Regions from separate parts of the Homo sapiens genome. Here regions 2 and 3 are each linked to region 1. Evidence: promoter capture Hi-C in human tissues and cell types (Jung and others, 2019). All regions are on one chromosome and are shown on one strand. The core of a region is centred on a gene start or on the middle of the fragment in contact, and the rest is flanking DNA. Distances in the headings are between cores, read along the strand shown. Region 1 holds the start of GML (glycosylphosphatidylinositol anchored molecule like). Region 2 has its middle 40 kb from the start of CYP11B2. Region 3 has its middle 13 kb from the start of CYP11B2.

Region 1 (4,929 bases), core at 1,093-3,592:
TTTGTATTTTTAGTAGAGACGGGGTTTCACTATGTTGGCCACGCTGGTCTTGAACTCCTGACCTCAAGTGATCTGCCTGCCTCAGCCTCCCAAAGTGCTGGGATTACAGGTGTGAGCCACTGCAAATTTTAAAAATCCTTCTCTTTGTTCTTTGGACATACTGAATGCCAGCCCGTCTACCCCCATGCCCCTAATTACAATTATTTCCTCCGAAAGAAAAGATTTCAATTTCAGAAAGTCATCTATTTTATTTGACTTCAACACGAGACAAGCCACACTCTGTAGGAGAAGGGGAAGGGCACCGCTCAAGATGGCTTCAGTTAGGGTTAGAGACAGGGCCGGCTCCAGAGGCAGCCAGGGTCAGGTTGAAGCTGCAAGCATCCCACTTGGCCTCCACCTTTGAGCAAGCCAGTAGTCCAGGCCTTCCCACAGGCTCCTGGAGAGAGGAGAGGGCACACATCCCCAGTAGTAACATACAACCACCTCCAAGCTTTCCAGCTATTTTGTACGCAACGCAAGATGTTCAATAAAAACATCACAGGATATGTAAGAATTAGGAATAAATTATTGCTAATCAATAAAACAACAATAGAAATAAACCCACAGTTCACTCAAATGTTGACATTAGCATACAAGTACTTTAAAAATTCTAATGAGAGCATTAAAGAGAAAAAGATTACTAAATTGATTTTTTAAAGATGAAAAAATTTTAAAAATAACAGGATGTGTAAGAGGCAGAAATAAGGGACTATAGTATGAATTATTTCTACACCACCATACTTCTGACCCTAAATATGTGAGTTTTTACACACAAACCAGTTCTCCAACTCTCTGGACACTGACCGTCCAACATTTCAATTCAATTCTGACACTGCCTTGAGCAGGGCAGACCCCACAGGTGAAGGGCTCAGTCCCACCCTAATGCCCCCACTTCAGATGCCAATCACAAGTCTGGGCCACGTGTACTTCTGACTGCCCAGTTATAAATCAAGGGTTTCCAAGACCACCTCCTCCTAGATAATTTGCTAGAACAGCTTACAGAGCACAAGAAAACAGTTTACTTACTATTACCAGTTTATCACAAAGGTGACAACTCAGGAACCGTGAAACGGAAGAGATGCATGGGGCAAATACAGGGTAAGCTTAAGATGGCTTCAGACAAAAAGAGTAGGAATATCTTATTATCAGCAGACCCACTACAAGAAATATTGAGTTCATAACATATATAGAAATAAAGTATATGACAATATCACAAAGCAAAGGAGGCTGTAGAACTGAAAGGCAGAAACAGTTACGTCAGCGTCGGCGAGTGCAGGCTTCCAGGCAAAAAACATTGCAAGAGGTGACAAGGACAGACACTTCAGAGCCGAATGCAGTTTCGGACACTGAGAGTCCATTTTCTGACTATGGTGGCATTAAGCAATAAGTCACCCCAGAAGGATTAACTGGAAAATCCTCATCTGTTTGGAACTTAAGAACACACCTCCAAATAAGAAATAGACCCCCAAATCCTTCTCAATAGAAGTCAAGAATATTTTGGGCAAAGTCATAATAAAGAATGAAAAATAGAAACCTGGCAGAAGTAGCCTGAAGGGACACGGAAGGAAAAGCAGGGCTCCATTAGAAAAGGCAAAAAGACTGGAAACGAAGGCCTCCTTCTCTCCTTCGAAAGCAAGGAGCCAGAAAAGAACGAGCAGCAGAACGTGGAACAGGCTGCGGCCCGAGACCCGCGCCTTGGGGAATCACAGACAGTGTGGGGGTGGGCGGCCCCGGGACACCCCGAGGGAAGGGGACTCAAGAACTGAACGGAGCCCCAGCCCCAGACTCTCGAGGGAAGTTGAGCTGTAAGGGGAGGGGGGCCCCAGGGAAGCGGAGTTGGGGTGCTGGCATCTCCCTGGGACCCCTGAGCATAGTTGGGGGGTCTCCCTGGGACCCTGATGGGAGTGGAGCTCGAGAGGTCCCCCAGTACCCCTGAGAGGAGCTGAATTAGGGGGTCTCCCTGGGACCCTGAGGGGAATGGAGCAGGGGGCGTCTCCCCAGGAACCTGCGGGGAGTGGAGTTTTGAGGGGTCCCCCTGGCACCCCTGAGAGGAGCTGAGTTCGGGGGGTCTCCCTGGGGCTCCGAGGGGAGTGGGGGCACCCCATCCAGGGAAGCGCGGCGCACCCCCGGCGGCGTCCTGGCGGCCCAAGCAGCTGACGAGGAGGCTGCCTCAGCTGGGCCCCTGGGCAGACTCCAGTCTCACGCCTGGGTCCCGACCCGCCTCAGGAAACTGACCTGTGCCCCTCGGAGCCCCGCAGTGTGCGTGCCCGCCGCCTCCAGCCATCTGAGCCTCCCGCGCCGACCTCCCCACCCGCTTTCTGGAACTTTCGGGGGCCTCCGCCGGCCGCACAGCCCCGCCCTCCTTCCGGACCCTCAAAGCCCCGTCCCCAGGCTCCAGGCCTCCAGCCCATCTGCCAGTGTTCAAAGGTGGGCAGGGTCCCCCTTGGGGCTCCCAGGTGAAAATATTTCTCACAGAAATCTGCACACCCTGGCTCCATCCACGCTCCCTTTAGGAAAGCCACGGGGAATGTTCTAGAAGCGCACGGCCCTGGCTGCTGGAGAAACGGGACAGCAGCCACCCTCGGCAGCCTGTTGGCACCGCCCAGGCCCACCCTGCCCTCAAGGTCCCAGTCCACCTGCCTCGTTCCTGGACCCTCCCTCTAGGGGGTCCCGCCATCACCATAACCCCTGGGGACCCCGGGAGCCCCTCCGCTCAGGGTGCGACCCCGTCGCCTCTGGAGCCGGCCCTGTCCCTAACCCTGACCAAAGCCAGCTTGAGCGGTGCCCTTGCCCTTCAGCCCCGCCAGCGCCCACCTGTGCAGAGGTTTCAGGGGGAGACCTGCCTGGCTTTCGCTTGAGCTCCTGCCATTTTGCCTTCAAGCTGTGTGTGGCCAGGGACAGCTGGCTTCACCCGAGCATCTCCTACACAGTGTGGCTTGGCTCTTGTCGAAGTCATATAAAATAGGTGAATTTCTGAAATTGAAATGTTTTATTTGGGAGGAAATAACTGCAATTAGGGGCACGGGGGCAGACTGGCTGGCCTTCAGTATGTCCAAAGAACAAAGAAAAGGCTTTTTTAAATTCGCGGTGGCTTACACCTGTAATCCCAGCATTTTGGGAGGCTGAGGCGGGCAGATCATTTGAGGTCAGGAGTTCAAGACCAGAGTGATCAACATGGTGAAACCCCGTCTCTACTAAAAATACAAAAATTAGCTGGGTGTGGTGGTGTGTGCCTGTAGTCCCAGCTACTCAGGAGGCTGAGGCAGGAGAATCCCTTGATCCCAGGAGGTGGAGGTTGTAGTGAGCCGAGATCGTGCCATTGTGCTCCAACCTGCAGGACAAATCAAGTCTCTGTCTCAAAAAAAAAGGAACTATGTCTCTTTTTTATAAAGAAGAGAAATAGTACATATTGCTGTCTGAGTTTCATTGGCACTAGTAGGATTTTGGGGAGCTGGCAAGCTCTGGTTGATGAGTGAATCAGTGACGGCAGTGGGTGAACCGAGGCTTAGAGTTGCAGCAGGTGGTCTCAGTAGCCATCAGATAAAACTGGTTTCAGGTTACCGCAGACAGTTTCAGCAGTCAGGCCTCAGAGAAGTACATTCTTGGAGCAATGTTTTCTATCCTGAGTGCTGAATGGTCTCCCTACCTGGCACTCTGCCTTAGTTGGGTGTGACAAGGGTGACCCAATTTGTATGCTCACCTTTCACACCGAATCCTCAGCTCGGACGGGTTTCCCTTTCTAGGCTTTGACTTTCCCCTTGAACCTCATCCCACACACCTGTTCCATCGGGGCCACTGGCTTATGATGGAGACCAGTGGTATGACTGTGGCAGGCTCCTTCTAGGGGCACTCTGTCTCCTGGGATCTGCCACACTGGGGGGGATTCTACTTGGCCTTCTCTGACTCCCCAGGGTCCCTCCCACCACAGCACTTGGAGGCTCTTCCATGGGAAAACTGTCTTGATCTTTAGGTACCTGGAGATTCTGGGCCACTTTGGTTCCCCGTGAGCCAAGACGGCACTCTGGTTTGCATTCCCTACCGGAGTCCCTGTCTGTAGCCAGCCTGGCTTTCAGCTGGTGCCCAAAGTGACAAATGTATCTGCAATGACAAAGGGTACCCTGGGAAGGGCTCGCCCTCTGCGGAATTTCAGTTCATGCAGGCCTTGGTGCTTCCACATCTGTCCAAGGGCCTTTCAAATGTGACTTTTAACTCTGTGGATTGATTTGCCCGGTTGTCACATTCTGAGCAGCCACAACCTACTGCATCCCATGTAGAAGTGGAAGTGACCTGATTTTTTCCTGACTTTTCAAGGCTGTATGTTTACATTTGCCTCCAATCATTCCTATATGGGAATTCCTTGGGAGTCTAACTTGGAGACTTTGTTTCTTCTGCCTTTGCTCCTGGGGGCTTAATCACTTCTGTGCCTCTGGTTATCTGTGGCATATCTGTATTTGTCATTAGTAAACCAGAGGCTGGGGGTCTGAGTGGAGGGTATGTCCCCCTCCAGTGATGGTTTCTGTTCGCTTCCCAGGGTGAGGATGACTCATGACCACTTGCAAGTGGTTTTTGTGTCTGGGGTTTACGATCACATAGTCATATACGTTCTAACTCCAGCCTGACTGATGATTCTATGGGCTTATGCTTTGCCTAGTATTGGAGGTGTAAAAATCTCTGGATGCCTGATCTAAGGGGCCTGAGGCAGGATGTCTTTATTTCCAAGGTCAGAAGACGGGATGGGTTGCCAGAATAATCTTTATGTGGAATTGTTGTAATCTAGAAGACACAAACTTTACCATTAAGTTAAACAAGCAAAGGCGAAAGATTACTAATAATGAGATAAATATCAAAGGTCCTAGGAAGGGCAAAAACCAAGTGAGACTCAGGAGGGTG
Region 2 (4,929 bases), core at 686-3,185, 120 kb before region 1:
TGTGGACCCAAAGAGTGAGCAATAGCAAGATTTATTGCAAAGAACAAAAGAACAAAGCTTCCACAGTGTGGAAGGGGACCCCAGCGGGTTGCCACTGCTGGCTCGGGCAGCCTGCTTTTATTCTCTTATCTGGCCCCACCCACGTCCTGCTGATTGGTAGAGCCGAGTGGCCTGTTTTGACAGGGCGCTGATTGGTTCGTTTACAATCCCTGAGCTAGATACAAAGGTTCTCCACGTCCCCATCAGATCAGTTAGATACAGAGTTTGGACACACAGGTTCTCCAAGGCCCCACCAGAGCAGCTAGATACAGAGTGTTGATTGGTGCACTCACAAACCTTGAGCTAAACACAGGGTGCTGATTGGTGTGTTTACAAACCTTGAGCCAGATACAGAGTGCCGATTGGTGTATTTACAATCCCTGAGCTAGACATAAAGGCTCTCCAAGGCCCCACCAGAGCAGCTAGATACAGAGTGTCAATTGGTGCATTCACAAACCTTGAGCTAAACACAGGGTGCTGATTGGTGTGTTACAAACCTTGAGCTAGACACAGAGTGCCGATTGGTGTATTTACAATCCCTGAGCTAGACATAAAGGTTCTCCAAGGCCCCACCAGACTCAGGAGCCCAGCTGGCTTCACCCAGTGGATCCCGCACCGGGGCTGCAGGTGCAGCTGCCTGCCAGTCCCGCACTGTGCGCTTGCACTCCTCAGCCTTTGGGTGGTCGATGGGACTGGGCGCCGTGGAGCAGGGGACGGCAGTCGTCGGGGAGGCTTGGGCTGCACAGGAGCCCACAGAGGCGGGGGAAGGCTCAGGCATGGCGGGCTGCAGGTCCCGAGGCTTGCCCTGCGGGAAGGCAGCTAAGGCCCGGGGAGAAATCGAGCGCAGCGCTGGGGGGCCAGCACTGCTGGGGGACCCAGTACACCCTCCGCAGCCGCTGGCCCGGGTGCCAAGTCCCTCACTGCCCAGGGCCGGCAGGGCCGGCCGTCTGCTCCGAGTGCGGGGCCGCCAAGCCCACGCCCACCCGGAACTCCAGCTGGCCCGCAAGCGCTGCACAGCCCCGGTTTCCCCTCGCGCCTCCACCTCCACACCTCCCTGCAAGCTGAGGGAGTCAGCTTCGGCCTTGGCCAGCCCAGAAAGGGGCTCCCACAGTGCAGCGGTGGGCTGAAGGGCTCCTCAAGTGCCGCCAAAGTGGGAGCCCAGGCGGAAGAGGCGCCGAGAGCCAGCGAGGGCTGTGAAGACTGCCAGCACACTGTCACCTCTCACTTTTAGAATTTCTTATGCCAAAAGGCCGATATTTCTGGCTTTTGAACTTACCAAAGGTAACCACCCAGGTGCTTAGAGAAAGGAAAATTTAAGACGTTCTGCAGAGGAGAAGAGAATAGACAAGATATTAAACCAGAAATGACTTATTTCTTATGGGGGAATTGAACCCCAACCGCCACTGTGAAAGTGCAAAGCCTTGGCTACTGAGCTACAGCACAAGGCAGTATCCAGTTCTTTTCCCAGAAGGAGTCTTGAGTAGTTAACTTTGATCTTGCAAAGGCTTTTAACTGTTTAATATGATTTTTAGAGCTAATTATGACATGAATCCTAAAATTCCTCTTCCCCGAAGGCAGAGACCAAAAGGAAGTACTGCCATATGGTTAAAAGGTCAAGCTCCCAAGGACATAAAATCTCCATCTCAAATGCCACAAACTATGGCTCCATGTAAGTAACCTTCCCAACATGACAAAACTGTAGTGATGGAGGACAGTTGAGAAGTTGCCAAGAGTTAGTGGTGTGCGAGGAGGGCAGCCATGTCCACAAAGGTGTAGCACAAGGGAGGGTGTCTGCAGTGATGGAAGGGCTCTGCATATTGAATGGGGTGATGGCTGCAGGAATGACACAGGCGTGGAGTTCCTGGAACTCCGAGCACATTGTATCATGTCAATTTCCTGATTATCACATTTTACTATAGAATGGAAGATGTAACCACTGGGGGAACTGGGATCTCTCTGGACAGTCTTTGCAACTTCCTATGTCAGAGGTGCATGAACCAGAGCAACTCTATCTTAAATAGGAGCTGGGATTACAGGCGTGAACCACCACGCCTGGCTCATGTACTTTGTTTTTAAAGAAAATGCCAAGCTGTTTTCCAGAGTAGTTGTACCGTTTCACATTCCCACCAGCGACGAATGAGCCATCCAGCCTCTCCACTTCTTCACCAGCATTTGGTGAGGTCGCTATTTTATTTTAGCCATTCTGATAGGTGTGTAGTAGGATCTTATTGCAGTTTTGATTTGCCTTTTTCCCTAATGGCTAATTCTGTTGACATCTCTTCATTGGCTTGTTCTCTGTATTTCCTCTTCAGTGAAGAGTTTTTCATGTTTCTTTTTCTGACAATTTTCTAATTGAATTGAGATTTTTTTTCTCTTGGGTTTAGAGAGTATATATAAGAGCTAGTATCTAGAATATAGAGCTCGCTATGGTTTCAATGTTTGTCCCCTCCAAAACTCATGTAATCTCCATTGAGGCAGTACAGAGCAGGGGGCCTTTAAGAGGTGATTGGATCACAAGGGCTAGGCTCTCTTGAATGGATTAACCCATTCATGGGTTAATGGATTACTAGATTAATGGGTTAATGAATTAGTGAGTTATCATGGAATGGGACTGGTGGCTTTATAAGAAGAGGAAGAGAAAACTGAACTAGCACAGAAGCACACTCAGCGCCCTCGCCCTCCCTGGGATGCCCTGCACTCCTTCGGGACCCTATAGAGAGTCCCCACCAGCCAGAAGGCCCTCACCAGATGTGGCCCCTTACCCTTAGACATCGAAGCCTCCATAACTTAAGAAAGGAATTCTTTTTTTTTTTTTTGAGATGGAGTTTCGCTCTTGTTGCGCAGGCTGGAGTGCAATGGCACGATCTCGGCTCACTGCAACCTCCGCCTCCCGGGTTCAAGTGATTCTCCTGCCTCAGCCTCCCGAGTAGCTGGGACTACAGGTGTGCACCACCACACCCGGCTAATTTGTGTATTTTTAGTAGAGACGGGGTTTCTCCATGTTGGCCAGGCTGGTCTCGAACTCCTGACCTCAGGTGATCCACCCGCCTCGGCCTCCCAAATTGCTGGGATTACAGGCATGAGCCACTGCACCTGGACAGGAATTCTTTTTCTTTATAAATTACCCAGTTTCAGGTATTCTGTTATAAACAACAGAAAACAGATTAAGACAGAGCTGCATTCTAGGTATTAGCTCTTTGCCAGATACGTGGTTTGCAAATATTTCAATAGTTCAGCATTTCCCATTTAAATCTAGGAGCTATTTTGAGTTAATTTTTCTATAAGTAGTTTAGGTCGAGGTTACCTATGGATATCTGATTGTTTCAGTACAGCTGTTAATATGACTCTCCTTCCTCCATTAAATTGCTTTTTACCTCTGCCAAGTATCCACCGGCTGCACTGTGAGGGGCTGTTTCTAGGCTCGCTGTTCTGTTCCATCCATCTATGGGTCTGTTCCTCTGCCAGGACCACAGTCTTCACTACAGTAGCTATATAGTAAGTCTTGAAACTAGATAGAACAATTCCTTCCATTTTTTAAAAGTTATTTTAGCTATTCTAGTTCCTTTGCCTTTTCATATACGTTTTAGAATAATCTCATCTATACGAAGAACAGCTTTTCCTGGGCTTTTGATAGGGATTGCATTAAAAGTATGTCAAGTTGGAGAGAACTGACACCTTTCCTATGTTGAGTCTTCCAATCCACTGACAGCCTATATCTCCATCGATTTAGGTTTTTTTTTTTTTTTTTTTTTTTACTTATTTCAATAGCATTTTATAATTTTCAATAGCATTTTATAATTTTCAGCATACAGATGCTGTACATGTTCCTTTTTTATTTCCTTTGGAGTAACTGCAAAAAGTATTATGCCTTTCACTTCTATTTCCTCTTATTCATTGTTAGTATATAAAACATCATTGAGTTTTGTGTGTTAATCTTGTGACATTGCTAGACTTACTAGTTCTAAGAATTTTTTTTTGTAGATTCATTGAACCAGCAGGCATGCCCCAGAACATCTCCCAGACTTACTCTCACACGTGAATTATGGAAAATTGACTTATTGGTTGCAGTGTTGTTGGAAAGGGCAAAAGACAGAAAACCACCAAAACGTCCATCGGTAGGAGACTAGTTAAATAAATTATCATCAGCCAGCCTGATGGTCAGCAATTTTAAAATAAGTTCTCCAAGATGTGCATTAAGTGACCCATGTACATAATGTGTGAAATTTGGAGCAAAATTGAAAATAAATTAGACTCCATACCCTTATGTGATTGCTTTCCCATAAAGGAACCTGGAAAGGATAAGAAGTCAGTACGCCTGACCGCTGGCGGCAGCTGCCCTGGCGAGTGCCTGGGAAGAGGTGTGTGCCTTTATTCCACTATTTGAAGCATTAAGTCACCTGAGATGGGAAGGACGGAAACCCCTGCCTGCAGGCCAGGGTCCCTGCTGCCCCTCCCACAGCCTGTCCCCAATGTGGGGCACTGCCCTCTCCCCTGTAGTCCTGCCCCCTCCCCACTCCACCTGCCAATGGGGAGCAGTGGTCCCCATTCCACCAGAAACATGGCCCCTCTTAGCTGCCCTGCAGCCTACTTGCTGCTCCTTGGAAGACCCAGACCAAAAAATTCAAAGGAGCACCCTGGCTGGATTCTGGAATGTTCCAGAGCTCTCTGGATGTGACTTCTTTCTGAGATGGTCCCCAGAGCTCTTGGAGGCCCACAGCTTCCCTAGTTTTGCAGGTGGCACCCCACAAGTTCCCATCTCTGGCCTCCTGGGTCAGGCCTCCTCCCTGGCAGCAGACTGCTGCCCACATGGGGTGAAGGTGCAGGTAGGGCAGGGGCCTAGCACCATCCACGGACCCTGGTCAGAGGTCACAGGTGGTGTTTTTCACCTGT
Region 3 (4,929 bases), core at 987-3,486, 97 kb before region 1:
ACCCTGCTGCCTGAGCTGTGAATTAGAGGAGTGAGGTCCTTGGTCATGTACCAAAGACTAAAAAGGGCTTCTTGGCCAGGCGCAGCGGCTCATGCCTGTAATCCAAGCACTTCGGGAGGCTGACGCAGGCAGATCACTTGAGGTCAGGGGTTCAAGACCAGCCTGGCCAACATGGTGAAACCCCATCTCTACAAAAATTAGCCAGACATGGTGGCAGGTGCCTGTAATCCCAGCTACTCAGGAAGCTGAGGCAGGAGAATCGCTTGAACCCGGGAGGCAGAGGTTGCAGCGAGTGTAGACCACACCACTGCACTCCAGTCTGGGTGACAGAGTGAGGCTCTGTCTCAAAAAGATAAAGAATAAAAATAAAAAATAAAAAGGGCTTCTCAGTATAATGTCTGGTTCTGAATGCTGACGAAGAAAAGACATCAAAGGGGAATTCTATCTGGAACGTTCTAAGTATTTCAAAGCTAAGTACCCACGGGTTATTGCCCATAGGCTATTTTGAAGTTCTTGAGCTATTGGCCTCTCCATAGTCAATTGTTAATTAAATGTATCAGCATAATTGTGTCAACTTCTGAACTCACACTCACTTTTTTATATCCCTCATCTTATCTCTGGATCACTTTCTTTGAAGCAAATTCTGAATAGTTCTTTTGGGCAGGGTCTGTGATGAGTAAACTGATTTTTTTCATTAATAGTTCCTTTAGCCTGTTCTCTTGGATGAGCGTTTAACTGAATTTAAGATCCTGTGTTTACAGTAATGTTCCGTTTGCATTTTACATATATATTATTACTCCATTGTCTTCTGTCACTGAATGGTACTGTCAAGGCAAATTTATAGGTTGTCTTTGCTTTCCAGAGGCTTTTCTTGTTTGTTTGTTTGAGACAGTTTCACTCTTGTAGCATGCTCTTGTAGCACAGTCTCAGCTCACTGCAACCTCCACCTCCCAGGTTCAAGGGATCCTCCCGCCTCAGCCTCCCAAGGGCTGGGATTACAGGCACCTGCCACCACACCCGGCTAATTTTTGTATTTTTAGGAGCGACAGGTTTCACCATGTTGGCCAGGCTGGTCTCGAGCTCCTGACCTCAGGTGATCCACCTGCCTCAGCTTCCCAAAGTGCTGGGATTCCAGGAGTGAACCATCACGCCCAGCCTGCTTTCTAGAGGCTTTTATCTTTATTATTGACGTTCTGCTCAACACCTACTAGAACACGGGTTTGTAGACATTGTTGTGTATGTGTGTGTGGGGTATTTGCAAGAACATGCAAGTGTGTCTCTATAGATATGATTCTGACTTGTCCTTTTGCTTAATGCATGGTAAGCAACATTTTCGGTTAATTCAGATAGACCCACGTTTATTACCGATGTCCACTGTCCCACTCAATGGGTGCACCTTAACTTAGTGCTTCTTTTATTACAAGACAATTATGCTGTGTCTACTCTGACATGATCAAAATTAGGGAAATAAATGTGTTAGCACATATGTCTATAGTTTAGACTTATAGAATGGAGTCACTCTGAGGGCAGACACTTTCTTTTTCATTAGCATATCGCACAGCGCCTGACTGGTAGAAAGTTCCCAATAAAGACGTGCTGGGTGAATCAATGAAAGGGTGTACTCAGCCATTTAGAATTTTTTAGACAATGCCACTATTGCCCAACAGTCCATGAGGTCAGAAGAACAACAACCAGCAATTCCAGGGCCCCTCTTGCAAACAGATACAGATTTCTGCAAGAAAGCTGGAACCGTTCTTTTGCAAAGTGAGGCCTGACTTCCATGATTATGAGGCGGCCACACACCTACGGAGTCAGCCTTGTCTTTCCCTCCTATGGCTGCGGAGAGCTGCCCGACACCGTGCGCTACTTAAAAAGCTCCAGGAAATGTCTTCAGGTTCTAGCAAAATTATGGAGCAGAAACTCTGAAAATCCTTTCACTTCCAGCAACAATAAATACTGAAAAACATACAAAGATGCATTTCCAGGCTCTCAAAAGAACACATCTTCAGGAGCCCCAAATAGGGAGGGACCTGGACAAGGGATCAGTCTACATGGGTTTGGATCATAATCCCAAAAGACACAGGACGGAATGCCATAATCTAAACTCCTAAAGTCTAAAATCTCTAACATCTAAAATCCCAAGAATCCCAATCACAGGACAGTTGCACCATGTTAGACAGCACTGTTTCCTTGTTCTTGTCCCTTTTTTTTGGAAATTAACTGTGATTTCAGGAGGAGACGGGTATGGGTGCCAAGTTGACAAGGGGTGAACTTGTGGACCTAACTTTAAGTGTCAACTCAACTGGATTCAGAAATACCTGGAAACCTGGTGACACATTATTCGGGGTGTGTGTGAGAGGCATTTCCAGAGGAGATCAGCATGTGGGTCTGAGTGGTTTGTATGGGGAGGATCTGCTGTAATGTTGGTGGGCACCGGCTAATCCACGGATGCCCTGGAGAGAACAGATACAGAAGGTGAATTGTCTCCCTGAGGGCTGGGACAGACCTCTTCTGCTGCCTTGAACACAGAACCCCAGGCTCTCCAGCCTTTGGAGTCCAGGACTTTTACACCAGTGGCCCCCGGCTTCTCAGGTTTTCAACTTTGTAGTGAGAGTTACACCTGTCCCCTCCCATCCCGCAATGGGTCTTGAGGCTTTCGGTTTGAGCCACACTACTGGCTTCCCACAGTCTCCAGCTTGCAGACAGCCTGCCATGCGACTTCTCAGCCTCTGTAATCATGTGAACCAGTTCCCCTAATAAACCCCTCTCATATATCCATACCCAGAACTTATTGGTTCTGTCTCTCTGGAGAACCCTGACTAATACAGACTTTGTATTGTGGAAGTTGAATACTGTTCCTTCTTACTGTATTTCTTACAACACAATGGAAGAGATCTGTGGAATCATTCCTTTGCAAAAAGGCTGCAATAAGTGTATTAAGCTACTTAATGGTGAAAGATAATAGTTTAAAAGCTAATTATTATTGGCACTGCAATTAAGCAGAAAATTGCTTAATTGCAACAAACAATAATAAGACCTTCAAATAGACAGCATATATCTGCAAAATTCGTAGACCACCACCACTCTCCAGATACAAGTGCAGCAAGTGTTTTGAAGACAATAGAAGTGAAAACTCAGGTGAAAAATACAAGAAATCTCCCAAGTCACATTATCCATTCAGGCCTGACTTCTGCCCCTTCACACACAGCACCAGGCTTGCCTTCAAAAAATGCCCTTGGGCTGGGCGCGGTGGGTCACGCCTGTAATCCCAGCACTTTGGGAGGCCGAGGCCGGTGGATCACGAGGTCAGGAGATGGAGACCATCCTGGTTAACACGGTGAAACCCCGTCTCTACTAAAAATACAAGTAATTAGCTGGGCATGGTGGCAGGTGCCTGTAGTCCCAGCTACTCAGGAGCCTGAGGCAGGAGAATTGCTTGAACCTGGGAGGTGGAGGTTGCGGTGAGCCAAGATAGTGCCACTGCACTCCAGCCTGGGCGACAGAGTGAGACTCTGTCTCAAAAACAAAACAAAACAAAAACGCGCTTCATCAGAGAATAAAGCGAATTCGACAAGCTCAGCGAGCTTCGGAACCAAGGAGGTTTGCTCTTTGCCACTGGGGTTCCTCCAGTGACACAAACACACTGCATGGTGAGAGATTATTGATTAGGGATTTGACTGTTGAAGAGGATAGACTTCTTATATTTACCACTAAATCTGACATAGAAAGACTGGCGCATGCTTCACTTCGACTAAAGACGGCACTTTCAAAACTGTTCCCACTGTTTTCTTTCAACTATATGCAATTCAAGTCCCTGTTGGATCTGAAAATTCTAGAACTTTATCTCCTCATTTGTGTTTCAATGACAGGAAAAAGTGAAGCACTTTATGAATGCTTGTTTGAAGATTTGGTGGACTGTGCAGAAGAGAATAGATTTCGATGGAATCCCCAAACCATGATGATAGACTGGGAACGAGCTGTGACCAGGCTCCTACAAGTTGCCACACGCACTCCCACTCCCAGGTGATGGCCTGAGTATTTATGATTGCAAAAATATGGAAGTTCTTATTGCCTGTTTTATTGCGTAAAGTGGCTGAGGAAGTGTTCTGCCATGTTTTTATGCGTTTCTCAAACAAGTCCCCCTTAAAAATGTGAATAAATATCTTTAAAATAATTACAATATTTTTCCAGAATTGTATTTTTGAGATTTTGATCTTTTGGGATTTCAACATTTGGGATTATGGCATTTGGAGTTGTGTCTTCTGGGATTATGATAGGCAACCAGTCAGTACAGAAGCCAACACAGCCATCACCTGGGAGTGGGGGTGCATGCGGCAACCGCTTTCATCACCTTGGTGAAAAGATGGCTTGAGTTCTAAGGAGGAAAGGAGGTGAGGGTTAGGATACAAGCAAAGTTAGAAATTGGAATTGAATGGCTGGGCACTGTGGTTCACTCCTGTAATCCCAGCACTTTGGGAGGCTGAGGTGGATGGATTACAAAGTCAGGAGATGGAGACCATCCTGGGTAACATGGTGAAACCCCGTCTCTACTAAAAATACAAAGAAAAAAAAGAAAAGAAAAGAAAAGAAATTAGCCGGGCATGGTGGCACATGTCTGTAGTCCCAGCTATTTGGGAGGCTGAGGCAGGAGAATGGCTTGAACTTGGGAGGCGGAGGCTGCAGTGAGCTGAGATAGTGCCACTGCTCTCCAGCCTGGGCAACAGAGCAAGACTCTGTCTCTAAAAAAAAAAAAGAAAGAAAGAAACGAGTTGAAAGCCCCACATAAAGCCTTAACTTTCAAGACTACAACTTCAGTGAAAATGTGGTCCAGAAATATTCTATCTAACAGCATGGGAGATGAGAAGGAAGCTTGGCTCTTTAACCCTGGGAATGAGGAGTGAGAAATGTCCCCTCCTATGGATCAGGATG

What was found. The method cuts DNA at HindIII sites, captures the fragments that hold promoters and counts their contacts. A contact is called where the count stands out against the background at its distance.
Region 2: a fragment that was not itself captured here is called in contact with the fragment with the promoter of GML in region 1 in 2 of the 25 tissues and cell types used here (H1 embryonic stem cells and mesendoderm cells).
Region 3: a fragment that was not itself captured here is called in contact with the fragment with the promoter of GML in region 1 in 3 of the 25 tissues and cell types used here (lymphoblastoid cells, mesendoderm cells and spleen).

Annotation. Positions count from the first base shown.
Region 1 is chr8:142,832,214-142,837,142 of GRCh38, reverse strand. It overlaps GML (glycosylphosphatidylinositol anchored molecule like), which reads right to left and starts at 2,342. Exons shown (of 4, transcript NM_002066.3): 1 at 2,275-2,342. The HindIII fragment of the contact is 25,891 bases long and covers 817-4,929 here.
Region 2 is chr8:142,955,632-142,960,560 of GRCh38, reverse strand. No RefSeq gene overlaps it. Among named protein-coding and RNA genes, the nearest start is that of CYP11B2, 40 kb to the right of the region's middle. The HindIII fragment of the contact is 8,627 bases long and covers 1-4,929 here.
Region 3 is chr8:142,928,877-142,933,805 of GRCh38, reverse strand. No RefSeq gene overlaps it. Among named protein-coding and RNA genes, the nearest start is that of CYP11B2, 13 kb to the right of the region's middle. The HindIII fragment of the contact is 8,685 bases long and covers 1-4,929 here.